Linked DNA regions of Homo sapiens: region 1 is linked to region 2. The links are contacts of gene promoters, found by promoter capture Hi-C in human tissues and cell types (Jung and others, 2019). All regions are on one chromosome and are shown on one strand. Each heading gives the region's core, a stretch centred on a gene start or on the middle of the fragment in contact. The rest is flanking DNA. Distances are from core to core; before and after follow the strand shown. Region 1 overlaps KRT86 (keratin 86). Region 2 holds the start of KRT79 (keratin 79).

Evidence for each region. Contacts are between HindIII fragments. The study calls those that stand out against the background at their distance.
Region 1: a fragment that was not itself captured here is called in contact with the fragment with the promoter of KRT79 in region 2 in 1 of the 25 tissues and cell types used here (thymus).

What each region holds. Positions count from the first base shown.
Region 1 is chr12:52,277,334-52,283,985 of GRCh38, forward strand. All of the region lies in intron 2 of KRT86 (keratin 86), which reads left to right. It overlaps KRT86-AS2 (KRT86 antisense RNA 2), which reads right to left and starts at 1,823. Exons shown (of 2, transcript NR_199073.1): 1 at 1,608-1,823. RefSeq lists an enhancer at 2,744-3,943. The HindIII fragment of the contact is 5,713 bases long and covers 300-6,012 here.
Region 2 is chr12:52,832,874-52,839,433 of GRCh38, forward strand. KRT79 (keratin 79) reads right to left here and starts at 1,438. Exons shown (of 9, transcript NM_175834.3): 1 at 911-1,438. The coding sequence starts at 1,387. KRT78 (keratin 78) reads right to left here. Exons shown (of 9, transcript NM_173352.4): 9 at 4,934-6,499. The coding sequence ends at 6,240. RefSeq lists an enhancer at 3,910-5,109. The HindIII fragment of the contact is 20,589 bases long and covers 1-6,560 here.

The DNA.
Region 1 (6,652 bases), core at 1,906-4,405, 550 kb before region 2:
CCATACAGACAAACAAACACAAGTTTTGGAACAGGTGTGCTCACTCCTTGCAACCATGGACAATCTCCAATCCCTCATTGGCTCTGCAGCCTCAGAGCAAGGTCTGGATCCTTAAGGGGGAAGGAGTGAGGGCCAATAATGTCCTTCTGTCCTTGGTCTACCCTTCGCTCCCTACGCCCTGTGAACTAGAGGAAGTCAAGGACCCGCCAGCTCTGCAGGAGGAGGGTGGCTCTGGCAGCACCAAGGGCAAGCTGGCTTGGCTGGAGGCTGCCCTGCAGCGAGCTAAGCAGGATGTGATGTAGCAGCTGTGTGAGTACTGAGAGCTGTGATCGTCAAGTGGGGCCTGGACTTTGAGATTGCTGCCTGCCACAAGCTGCTGGAGGGTGAAGAGAGTGGATGATGGGTCAGCTGGGAAGTGCTTCAGATGTGGCTGCAGTGAGGAGTGCAGGGGCACAGGGCAGCACCACGCTCATCAGCCAGGGAAGGGTGGAGAGAGATGACCTAGGTATCCAGGAACTCGTTCCTCTAGAGCTAGGTTTCTCTCACCATCTTACAGCCCTTTGAACAAAAAGTTCTAGCTGATGTGTACTTTTGGCACCTGGGACGGGGTGACCCATAGTCATCCACCCCAGTATCAGAGACCAGGGGCCGGTTTGTCCATGGAGACAGCTGCAGGGACCAAGGCCTAGCCAGTGGGAATAAGGTCTCTGTGTGAAGTGCCTTCTTCTCAACTCTGCCCCTCTCCCCAGGCCTGGGGAAGGTGGGGTTACATGACCAGGTGGGGCTTGGCTTTCAACTCAGTAGACAACAGTAGGAGACAAGGGCTGTCACCAGGCTAGGGGAGGGAGGGGGAACTGATCACCCATGCCACAGGCATATTGCATTGATCACCTCCTTTAACACCTCACAAAACCCTGGCAGGGAGGTCCTATTATCCCCATTTTACAGATGAGGGGTAAGTTTCAGAGAGGTTAAGTGACAGCTTTAGGGACACACACTAGTCTTCAGATTATGGAGCTACCTGCTCTGGGGTCTCCTGTAGAGGTTTAAAATGTTCCCTCACGGTCTCACCTTCCAAGATCAAGTCAGGCCAAAGAAAGTGTAGTTTTTTTTTTTTTTTTTTTGGTCTTCTCTTTCCTCCAAAAAGTCATCAACAAAAGTGAGTTATATGAATTTAAGGCAGGAGTGATCAGAGAGCGCCAGGGAGCTTGCAGGGTGGAAGGACTGCTGTCTGGGAGGGTCAGGAGTGTGTGTCCTGGGGAATGCAGAATACCAAACCTAGTAGACAGATGGACTCACCTGCTTCCTTCTTTCCGCTGGCTTGGTCTGGGATTTGGGGCAAGGAGCATCAGTAAGTAAACAGTAGGCTGGCATGGTCGGATCTTATCTTATTATCTTATTCTCCTTATTCCCTCCTTCCCCGTCCACACCTTGGCGTGCCTCCTCTTGAGAAGGCAGAAGGGCTGTGTTTCTGTTCCTGTGTCTGTGACAGCTCCCTCTGTGCCTCTCCTTTTGTCGGGGGCTATTTCTTCTCTCGGGGGTGACTGCGTTTGCGTGTGTGGGGAAGGGGGTCCTGTGGTCTGTTCTCTGGGGAGAGGTCTGTTTACCTGTTCCTTTCGGGGAGTTTGTACATCTGTCTCCTGGTGGGGAGGAGGGTCTGTGTATCTGGAGGAGATGTCTGCAAGTCTGTCTTCTGGGGCTTGGGGTGGGGGGAGGAAGGGCTTTCCTCCCTCGGACAGTCGTCCTCCGTTCAGCCGGGCTCCGCCTGCCTGCTCCAGCCCCGAGCAGGCTCCGGCGCCCTGGAGACGAGCGCCCCTGGCGGCGGCTACGCGCTCTGCGGCTCTCCCGGCTGTGTCCGTGGGCTTTAGCTACACAGCTCCCGCAGATGTTGAACCCTTCCCGCCTCCCTCCGGAGAAGACAAGGAACCCTCAGCTTCTGCCCTAAAGACTTAGCCCTCTTGTGTCAGATGCCCCCTCCCATAGAGCTGACCCCACATCATCTTTCCTTTTTGCCTCCCACACCGGGACGTGAGGCGTTGGAGCACAGCTTACAGGACTATGACTGACCATCCCCAGTGCAGATGGCCTGGACGCTGGTGCCATTGGGTAGAGGTGGCCAGCTTACCTGGACCAAGAACCCTGCCCCTCTGAACTGTTCCCACCCCTTCTTTCCAGGGACTTCTCTGCAATAAAAAGTTGTGGAGTGGTCTGAGCTGCCAGGAGTTTAAACCCGGATTCTCCAGGCCATTCCCAGAGCACAGACAAACCTGGCTGCGGTGGAGGGGTCAGGGCGAGAACAGTACCAGGAAGCAACCTCCTCCCCTCCTGCTGTGAGGGTCTATGTGACTTAAGTATATGATGATTCGATATTATAGAACCAGAGTCTTTAGGATGGGGAGCCCGGAGTCCATGGGGAAAGCGAGAGAAAGGGTTCATTCATGCAGAAGAGTCTAGCCTGGGGCCCATAGCTTCTGGGCAGCAGAGCTGAGAATTCCATTCTCCATCCATCCATTCACTCTACACATACTTACTGAATGGCCTCATAGTGCTTGGTTCAGGGGACAGGATGGTGAGGAAGACACTCTAGGATTCCTGGAGATGAGGTTCTGGGTAGGGAGGTGGGCCATAGACGAGGAAACCGAGCAGAAACAGAAAAGGGTGAGATGGGGATTGGGCCAGTGCCTTCTATCACCCTGATGGGGCATTTGAAGACAGGTGGCCCTTGCAGATGGGGGCTGGAGAGAGATGAACACAATTGGGTGGCCCAAGCTTGGGTTCTGGTTTAACACACAATTGGGCCACCGAGTTGTGTTAATATGATCTGGTGGCGGGCAGAGGAACAACACACTATGGTGGAGGAAATTGTGGGCTGTGAAATCAGACGGAGGCTCCAGCTCTGTCTCTACTTCAGATCCAGGGTGTAAGTTGGTCCGAGTTTTTACAAGGCATTGGATTTTGGTGGTCGGAAGATAGAGTGGGGTGGCTAGATAAAGGCTGGATTTCTGGGTTCTTTCCCTGCCACACAGACCCAAGAGAAGCTTCTGTACAGTGAGCCCACATTCCTTTCTATTGCATGAAATTACATCATCAATGCAACAATAGTTTCTGCTTTCTATGTCCCTGGGTGGGGCTGAAGTGCGTCATTGGCCAGAGGCTTGGGCTTTACTTTTTAAGGCACTCTAGTGCCAGAGTGTCTGCTGTGTTCTTCTGGGTGCCTGCCCAGAGGACAGGTATCCAAAAGGCCCTCTTCTTGTGTAAACAGAAAAGTCTCATGCAAGAGGAATGGGACTGAAACTTGGCTAGCCGGATGCCACCCTCCTGAGGGGTAGGGGGCATGACCCCACTGGGCTCACACATCAGCCCTGGTTGATAAATACTGACCTGCCAACACTCGCAAATGCAAACAAGCTGCCTGAAGATTCTTTCAAGATTCTTTAGTCCAGCTCTGTGCTCCTTGCATTTTGCTAGGGGATCATGAGATTCTCTGCTATTCAAGCCCAATTTTCTCCAGCTCCTGCTATGATGATCATGTCAACAAGGGAACTTTGTGGGAATTGTAGGCAGGATCTAGGATGTACATTCTGCAACCTGCGTCACTCAGGACTGTTGCTCACATTTTCCCTTTTCAAATACCGAACCTGGACTTGCCTGATGTCAATCCAGAAGATCCCCAGGGCTTTGGGGTCAGGTTTGAGTTTCTTCCTGGGCCAGGGCCCTGTGGATCACAAGCAATGTTTGTGGTTTGGAGACTAATTCCCTGAGAGGCTCCCCTGGCCATGGGCCACATTCCAGACTGGGGTGGGAGGAAACTGCCCAGTGCATTTATGGAGAGTCATTCCCCAGCCCATTTATAAGCTTTGTGAGTCGGGTGGCTTCTGAAGGGAGGAGGGCTGTCCTCAGTTCAGTCATTGCTTCTCAGCAGAAGGGCACTATAAGGTGTGAGTCCTCTGTTGGCTCTGCATGCCTGCCTCACACTCCGTTGTATTTAAACATGTCAGATGCTAACTTGGCTGTGGTCATGTCTCTATCTGAGCCCCAGGAGGGCAGTGAAGGTCTCATCCATCCTCAGGGTCTGCCACAGAGTAGATGTGATGGGGTTGAGGCTGCATGGTCCTGGTTGGTGTGTCCTGTCCTGAGATGTATTGGGCCCTGTTTTTGACCATTGGCATGTGGCATTCTGCATAACCCCTTGGAAGTCTCTTGTGGAGTCTAAATGCAGTCCTTCCTGCTGTGATTTCAGCTGTAAGAGATCAACCAGACCAGCCTGGAGTAAGGAAGGAAGGGCCTTGATCCTGTTCCCAGTCTTATTCTTACCTTGTCCAAACTCTTCACCTGTTTCTGGGCCTCAGTCCTGCCCTCCTCTAGATCTAAATTGTGAAGATTCTTTTTTTCCTTCTTATTTAATTTTAAATTTATTTTTGTAGTGATGAAGTCTTGCTCTATCACCCAGGCTAGAGTGCAGTGGCAGGATTATAGCTCACTGCAGCCTCAACCTCCTGGGCTGAAGCGATCCTCCTGCCTCAACCTCCTCAGTAGCTGGGACTACAGGCACATGCCTCCACGCTCTGCTAATTAAAAAAAAAGTTTTGTAGAGATGGGGTCTCACCATACTGCCCAGGCTGGTCTCAAACTCTTGGCCTCAAGCAATCCTCCTGCCTCAGCCTCCCAAAGTGCTGGGATTACAGATGTGAGCCACTGTGCTTGGCTTTCTTTTTCCTTGTTTTCTTCCCTACTTAGTCCCTCTGAGCCAAAGGTTAGCTGCAAAATAGAGTAACTATCAGAGGGTTGTTTGAGAAAAGGTATTGCTGCATGTAAAGTGCTTAAAGCATAGGAAGTTATGTAAGTGTAACTATTATTTCACTTACTGGAATTCTTTAGAAGGTTTTTGAGCCCCCTGAAACAATTTTTTTTTTTTTTGAGACAAAGCCTTGCTCTGTCGCCCAGGCTGGACTGCAGTGGCGCAATCTTGGCTCACTGCAAGCTCCGCCTCCCGGGTTCACACCATTCTTCCGCCTCAGCCTCCCAGATAGCTGGGACTACAGGCGCCTGCCACCGTGATGGGCTAATTTTGTTTTTGTATTTTTAGTAGAGACGATGTTTCTCTGTGTTAGCCAGGATGGTCTCGATCTTCTGACCTCGTGATCCGCCCGCCTCAGCCTCCCAAAGTGCTGGGATTACAGGCGTGAGCCACCGCGCCCGGCCAAGTTTTGAGCCCCTTTAAAGAAAGCTCTCCAAAGTCCAAGGGTGGCTGAACTCCATCTGCCCCACCTGGAGTGAGAGTGACCATAGGGCAGGAGGAATAAGTAGGCAAGCCTAGGGGTTAGAGCAAGGGCTCCTTGGCCAGAGGGCACCTCCCTAGTATGACCCCCAGCAGCATCTGCCCATCACTACGCCCACTTTAGCCCCACTCCCCATCGGTGACCCCTACCTCACCAGCACACATGGGTCTACCCATGTACCCACACTGCACTCACATCCACATGTACCCACAAATCTCCCTTTTTCAGCACATAGATGCACACATGTCCACCATGTATAATCACACATTTAGAAACCCTCACCATCTCTCTCACACACACGTTTCCACACAGGTGCCTGGAATGTGCATGTACCTGGATGCAATCATATTGCTCCACTCGCAGTTACCTCTAGGCATTGAGCAATGCAGAATGAATATACAAACAACATGCGCATACACTGCACAGTTGCATGAAACCTGGACTCCCCATTTCCCTCTAGCCCCTAATCCTGTCCCACCTCTCCCAAAGAATAACAGAGTTGACTGGGTGCGGTGGCTCATGCCTGTAATCCCAGCACTTTGGGAGGCTGAGGTGGGTGGATCACAAGGTCAGGAGTTTGAGACCAGCCTGGACAATAAGGTGAAACCCCGTCAGTACTAAAAATACAAAAATTAGCCCGGTGTGGTGCAGGCACCTGTAGTTCCAGCTACTTGGGAGGCTGAGGCAGGAGAATTGCTTGAACTAGTGAGGTGGAGGTTGCAGTGAGCTGAGCCTGCACCACCGCACTCCAGCCTGGGCAACAGGGTGAAACTGTCTCACAAAAAAAAAAAAAAAAAAAAAAAAGAATAATAGAGCTTTAAATTGGTAAGGGATGTTAGTAGCCACCTAATCCAAGCATTTTTTTTTTTTTTTTTTTTTTTTTGAGACAGAGTCTCGCTCTTGTTGCCCAGGCTGGAATGCAATGGCGCCATCTTGGCTCACTGCAACCTCCACCTCTCAGGCTCAAGCAATTCTCCTGTCTCAGCCTCCCAAGTAGCTGGAATTACAGGCACATACCACCACGCCTGGCTAATTTTTTGTATTTTCAGTAGAGATGGGGTTTCTTCCTATTGGTCACGCTGGTCTCAAACTCCTGACCTCAGGTGATCTGCCCACCTCGGCCTCCCAAAGTGCTGGGATTACAGGCGTGAGCCACCACGCCCAGCCCCAAACATTGTATTTCATTAGCAGATACACTAAGGCCCAGAGATGGGAGGTGACTTGCTAAAGGTCACACAGTGAGATGTTCCATTTTCTTCACCATTCTGCACCCGGGGCATTATGTGTTTGATTCCTTCCCGCCTTGCTCCTCTGTCTGAGCCTGTGCAGGAATGGGAACCTAGAGGGAGGTGAGGATTGTGGGGCCGGAGTAG
Region 2 (6,560 bases), core at 188-2,687:
TGGGCACAATATCACCATTTCTGAGTCTTCATAGAAGCACTGTGGGTACCTCAGGAGAAAAGGGATGTGCATGTTCTTCGGAAACACACAAATCACTGAACCAAGGTACATTTGTCTGCCAGACCTTCCCCATCATGACCCGCTGCCTTGGCTCAGGATCGAGGTGGACAATGCCAGCGAAACAGACCAGGAAATCCCAGCACAAGTGTTGCTCCCATCCATCTGGAGGCAAGGGCAAGGTTCAGGGCATGCCTATGGGCAACAGGTCAAATTCCACATTCCCAGAGCTTGGTGACCTGGTGACCACCCTCCTCATTGTCCACCCCAAATTGAGCTTCTTCACTCAGAGTGTAAAAAAAGGAGAAGCGGAAGGGAGCCTACCCCTAGGACCCCACCCACACACAACTGTGTTTTGATCACATCTTGCCCTTAAGCCTCCTCCAAGCCTGAAAGAATGGAACAAACAGGGCTCCATGCTCTTAGCCTTGAACAACTCTTTCAACTCCTGAGCATTGTTTCCCCAGCTGTAAAATGACAAAAGGCAATGCAGGCCACCCCACTAAGAGGAGCTATGAGGACAATCCATTTTTTGATGATGAGGTAAGGCTACTGTGCAATCAATCGTATTAATCATGGTGGTAGGACAGGCTTCAACACGGGCAAGGTGGACTTGGCAAACCGGACTCATGAGTAGACTGGAGACTCCCCCCGCACAGGCACGGTGAAGACCTGAAGGCCGCCTCCAGCCACCCACGTCTCGGCATCCCAGGCTCAGACCGGGAGAGCTCCAGAGCTCTATCAACCACCACCCTAGTACAAGTGGGCTACAGCAGCCCTGGCCCAGCCCACCCTCTATTAGAGGTCCCGCTTCTTCCCCAAGAGCTCCCTTCCTCCTTCCTGCTTGGCCCACCTTGTCGATGAAGGAGGCGAACTTGTTGTTGAGGGTCTTGATCTGCTCCCGCTCCTGAGTGCGCACTCGCTGGATCTCGGGGTCAATCTCCACATGGAGGGGGGTCAGCAGGCTCTGGTTGACAGTGACCTCCTGGATCCCCCCAGGAGGACAAGCAGGCCCAAACGTCTGCCTGCCAGCCCCCTGTCCCATAAATGCCCTGCTGCCAAAGCCAAAGCCCCCCAGAGCCCGCCCCAACAAGGCCCCTCCGGCCACACTGACAGAGATACTCTTGTGGCCCCCCAAGTTATAGAGGCTTCGGCTGCCAAAGCCACCTGTGCCGGGGCCACAGTGGGCCCCGCCACCACTGCCACTGCTCCGAGACACCGTCACTGAGCTGAAGCTGGTGCGGGCCTGGGACCCACTCCCTCCGCTGGCAGAGTTGGAGCTGAAGCCCCCTTTTGTGGAGTATGTTTGCCGAGAGACGGAGGACCTCATAGCTGCAGAGGGGCCGGAGGGCAGGATGAGAGGGCAGGAAGGGAGTGCCGTGAGCTGCTGGGCCACTGTGGGCTTTTTATCTTTTCCCAACTGGGCCGGCTCCCCAGCTCCACAGACACTCCTGCCCCATCGCCCCAAGGGGAGAGGGAGGGGTCCTTAGGGCCACGGGGAGTGCCCTCTCCCCAAGCAGGAGGGAGGGGCCCTCCCGGTTATCACCTGTGCTCCAGAGCTGGGGCTGAGCCGAGACTGTCTGGGGCAGGATGCCACCTTCTCCCCCTGCCCCCAGGCTCTCCTCGGTTGGCACAGGATGATACGGGCTCCCATGGCCACCCCCACCACCCAGTGGCTGGCTTGCTGTCCTCCCACCCAGCCCCAGAGGCCACTGTCAATAGGGCTCTGTTCTACGGGGTTTGTCCCAGGCCCCTGTTGTAAGCCAAGGCTGCAGGGCCTGGGGCTGTACAGGTGGTAGGAGAAGGAGCATTGGGCAATGGGCTGCCAGAGAGAGCATCCAGGCCTGCTCCCATCCCACCCCCAGCCAACGGCCCACCACTCCTCCCAGGTCCAGGGTGTGTGACACAGGTGACAGGGCGAGAGTGGGGATAGCCTGTGCCTCTGCCGTACAGTGGCAGAGCCTTCTGGGAAGTGAGCCTATGCTGGCAAAGTGAATTCAAGGACAGAAAGAGGATCCCTGCCCAATCGTGGGGCCCAGGCCCTTGATCAGGAGGTAGAAAAGGCCTGGGGTCCTCAGGCAGGGCCCAGAAGCCTGGGAGCAAAGGACATTCTTATGGAGGCTGAAGAGAGGGCAGGGGATTTAACCAATACCTGAGATCCCTGAGCCTCTACCCCACAGCAGAGTCCCCACAGAAAGGTTCAGCCACTTTGGAGGGAGCTGGAGGTGGGTCAAGGACACAGACCACCCTGGGTGGAGACAGGCACAGCTCCAAAAAGCAGGTGTTCCAAAAAAGCCCCAGGAGGCCCACGCAGCAGCCCCGTCACTCCCATCTTCCCCTGCCCCACATGCAGGAGCCCATGTTTCTGATTCAGAGGGGCCAGGGGAGCTCCTTAAATCACCTCATATGGTCCCCGCCGCCCACTTCCTATTCACCTCAGTCTGCTGGGACCAAACACAGCCCCAAGCAAAGACAGAGACGTCAACTGTCAGGGCCGAGGGGTGACTGAGGAGGTGACTTTAGACACTGGCCCTCCCCACCCCCTTCTCTCAGCAAGAAGATGGGCTCAAAGTGAACAGAGACTTGCCTGAAAAAAAGGAGCGAGGACAGCATCGCTGTGCTCCCCACCCCCATCAGATGAGCAGGACAACCAGCCAGGCTGTGTCCCCAGGATCCCAACAGAGAGGACATGGGACTGCCACGGAGAAGGCTTGGCCTCCCTCCCATGTTCCCCACAGCCCAGCAAGTGAAGAGACAGCCTGCTCCAGGACCAGAGGGAGCTGTGGGATCTTCTCCTAGGGCCCCTGGGAGGCTGTAAGTGGCTCCCCGTTGCTTGAAGAGGTTGAACCCAGCTCCCACAAGGAATGGGAGTGAGAGCACTTGCAGAACTAGTCCCTTAATAGCCAAGAGGAGATTTTGGAGTTAGGACACTGGGCATTTCAGGGAGCCAAGCCGAGACGTCTCCCACACTGAGCTGTGTGTCCTGGGGCAACTCGCAACTTCTCTGAGCCCCATTTTCTCTGCCTATAAGCAGGGCCCTCCGTGGAAGACCTTTCGAAAAGTGATCCCTGGATGAAGCCGCCCCTTCCCACTGACCTTCGTCTCCTTTCCCCAGGCTGAGATCACTTTCTCAGCCTCCCTTATCTCTCCCTGGGTGGCGTGGGAGGAGGAAACAGTCATGAGTGGGCCCTAGCCTCCAGGATGTGGCTGTGGGCCCCCTGGGCAAGGAAGTGTTGTCAGCCCTCTGAGTCACAGGGCAGCCAGGCTGGTGGGAGTGAGAGGCAGTCGATAAACACAAGTCTCACCTCACCCCAGACACGACACTCACGCCAGTCCCTTGCACACATTTACCAAGCACGCTCTCTGGGCCACGCTTTGTGCTGGGAGCTGGTGACAGGCACACAGGGACCAGGGCACACTCTCATGGAGCTCCCGGCTTGCTGCTTGGAGACAGCCTCCCTCCCACCCAGGTTCACAGCCCAGGCCCAGACAGAAGCCTGGGAGGGCACTTTGCCTCCACCAGCCCCTACTCTCCACTCTACCTTCAGACAGGACATGCACGCTCAGACCTTCTTTCTGCAGCCCAGGGAGGAGCAGTTTCCTCCCCTCCTGCCCTCCACAGAGAGGAAGAGCTGCTGCACACTGCTATACTGATTACTGAGGGGCTCCATCTCTGGAGACTGTCACCTGCCCAGAGTCCCTCCCTGATGGCAGGACACAAAAGCAGAGGGGACTGAAGGTTGCTGCCACCAAAGGGAGGGGGCAAGAGAGTGGATACTGCCAACCTAGCACCTACCATGGGTCAGGCCGGGTGCCGAGCAATAGGAAAGTTACAGGGACAAAGGAGCCCCAAGAGGGTAGGGCTTTCTGAGCTAATTATCATCATTATTACAGTCAACACTTACTGAGCACGTACTATGCAGCAGAGTGGCCTGGATGCCTTCCCTGCAATGGCATGTTGAGTCTCCGCACTGGGTGATGCTCCATCTGCCTCCCTCCCGCTCCATTCTCCACCTTCCTCTGACCCTTGTGGGCTGCTCCCTGGCACTCTGGCTTCCAGTTGAGTTGACCAAAGGGAGACACCAGCAGGAGATCAGAGGGAGGAGACAGGTCAGATGTTTCTTCCCAGCTCCCTCCCTGCTTCCAACCACTTCAGACCACTGTCTGGGGACATGGCTACATCTCCCCATGATTACAGCTTCTGCCACCTCACTGCTTCTCTTGATCTTCAGCTCTACATAAGGCGACCAGCCCATCCTGATTTTCTCAGGACTGCCCAGCTTTAGCACTGCAAGTCCTCTCAGTCTTGGACACACTGAGAGGGTGGACCTCACTCTAGGTGTGGTAACGGCTTCTCGCCATTGCTGGTCCCTGGCCTCTCCATCCCTGTTCCCTCAGCCCTAACCACACCTCTGCAAGTAATCCTTTCCTTAAAGTCAATTTAGCCCTCTCAGGTCCTCACTTCCAAGAAGACAAAGAAAAGAAGGAACAACAATCACGCCCACGACCACGTGCAGCCTATTCACTACACAAACCCCACCTGACACGTGCCCGAGGGCAAGGCCATTAAGGAGGTCTTAGTCTGAAAAACGTGGTAGAGTCCACCGCCATCAGGAACATTTCCAAAGCGAGTGTCTTGGATGTCTGGGTGCTTCCCAGGCTGTATGTGAAACTGCATTACCATGTGAGGTGAGTCACTCATAGCAGGCCAGGCAGGAAGCAGCCTTGTGAAGCCCAGAAGGACCCAACACCCATATCCCTAGTCAGAACAGCTGGTGCTGCCCACAATCTCCGCCAAAGCCCATGTAAGGGGCCGAATCCCTCAGCACTAAAGAAAAGACTATCCTCTGGGGAAAAAAGAAAACGGAAATTATACTTTTTCAAAAAGTCAATTTAATTGAACTACCTTGGATGAATTTAGTTTCCTTCTGGGATCCTAGTGGCACTGTCGCCACACAGCCCTGTGAGGTACATATTATTATTAATCTCTTTTTACAGATGAGGTAACTGAAGAGGTCAAGCTGCTTGATCAAGGTCACACCACTAGGAAACAGCAGAGCTGGGATTCAAGCCACATCCTCACCGGCTCTGGTCTCCTTCACACAAAGCTGAAAAGCCTTCTTGCATAATTTGGATGGAGCGATTCATGAATCTGAGGAAAGGTCTGCCCTCCCTCTAAAGCAAGGAGAGGCGTAGTGTGACCTCCTGCAGCCCAGACTATGGAGTTTGGGGTTGAGCCAGGTCCCCCACCTGGGTCTGGAAAGCGAGAATGGGGAAAGAGCAACTGCAGGCACCCATGAGGCTGCTGGGGGTGTGTAGAAAAGGTGATCCTTCCAGCCCCTCCTGGCACCCCACCTGATTCCCACACTCCTGGCTTCCTGCAGAGCTTCCTGAAGGAGAGGAAGGAGGAGAAGTTTCCAGCCTCATGTTCACACTTGCCCAAGGATAAGATGAGAGCCAACAGATAAGGGGGTAGGGGCAGAGTTTGAACCCCAATCTCCATCAGAGCCCCCAGGCACAAGCTGAGCACATCCTCATCCTGGATGCAGGAGTGCCAGGCTAATAGAGAAGCTGAGTCCCTTACCAGAGCCAGACAGACATAGCACCCAGGACAGCAACAGGTGCAGCCAGACTGCCAGGGACAGGAAGGGCCCAGTAGTTTAGACATGGGAATTAGAGAAGGTTCCTAAAAGGAGAAAATTTTGGTGCACAGTCAGGAAGAAGGAGGAACAAGAAGGAAGGGGGCTGCCCCAGTCAGGACTAGAACCTCTTAAAACAGGCAGTTGATGAGGAAGTGAGCTACAAGCACAGCTAAAACATCAGTGGAGTTGTGGGAGATGGAGGGCACCCCAAGGAACACACTGGAGAGCTTGAAGGATCCCTTGATAGAGTGGCTGGGATGTGGAGTGAGATACCAATAGAACACGTCTGGACACAGATATGCCACAATTGCCTTCCGAGGAGAGGAAGCTGGGGAGCCACACAGCTTTTGTTTTGCTGGGTGAGGTGTGCAAGCACTTAGAGCATTCAGAACAGCAGGAGGGGAGACTTTATTGATTTTTGCAGCATCCGCTGTGGGCTGGCTTGGGCTGTGGGCAGCGGACACGGAGTTGGCCTTGCAGAGCCGGCTGATGGGGGGAGTGGGCCAAATGTGTTCAGGAAGGAGGTGGCTGCTGGGTCGCTCAGTAGGTGATGGATGTCTTCAGACTCGACTCAACTGTCTTCTTCAGGATGGTGTGGCAGCTGGAGCCAGCGCTGGAGCCAGACACAGAGCAGGAATCCAAAACAGGGTCCTTCCCAGAGCCCAGAATGATGTTGGAGCCTCCAGTCACAATGCTGGTGCAGCAGGACCCAGGGCTGCCTTTCCCACTACCGAGTCCACAAGTGCTCCCCAAGCCTCCACCAACTCCTCCAGACATGACAGCGCTGCCTCCCACCGAGGCTGCCAAGAAACGCACCGGGTCAGAGCAGGGTCATCAGCTCCCCATGGGGATCCCATCCCT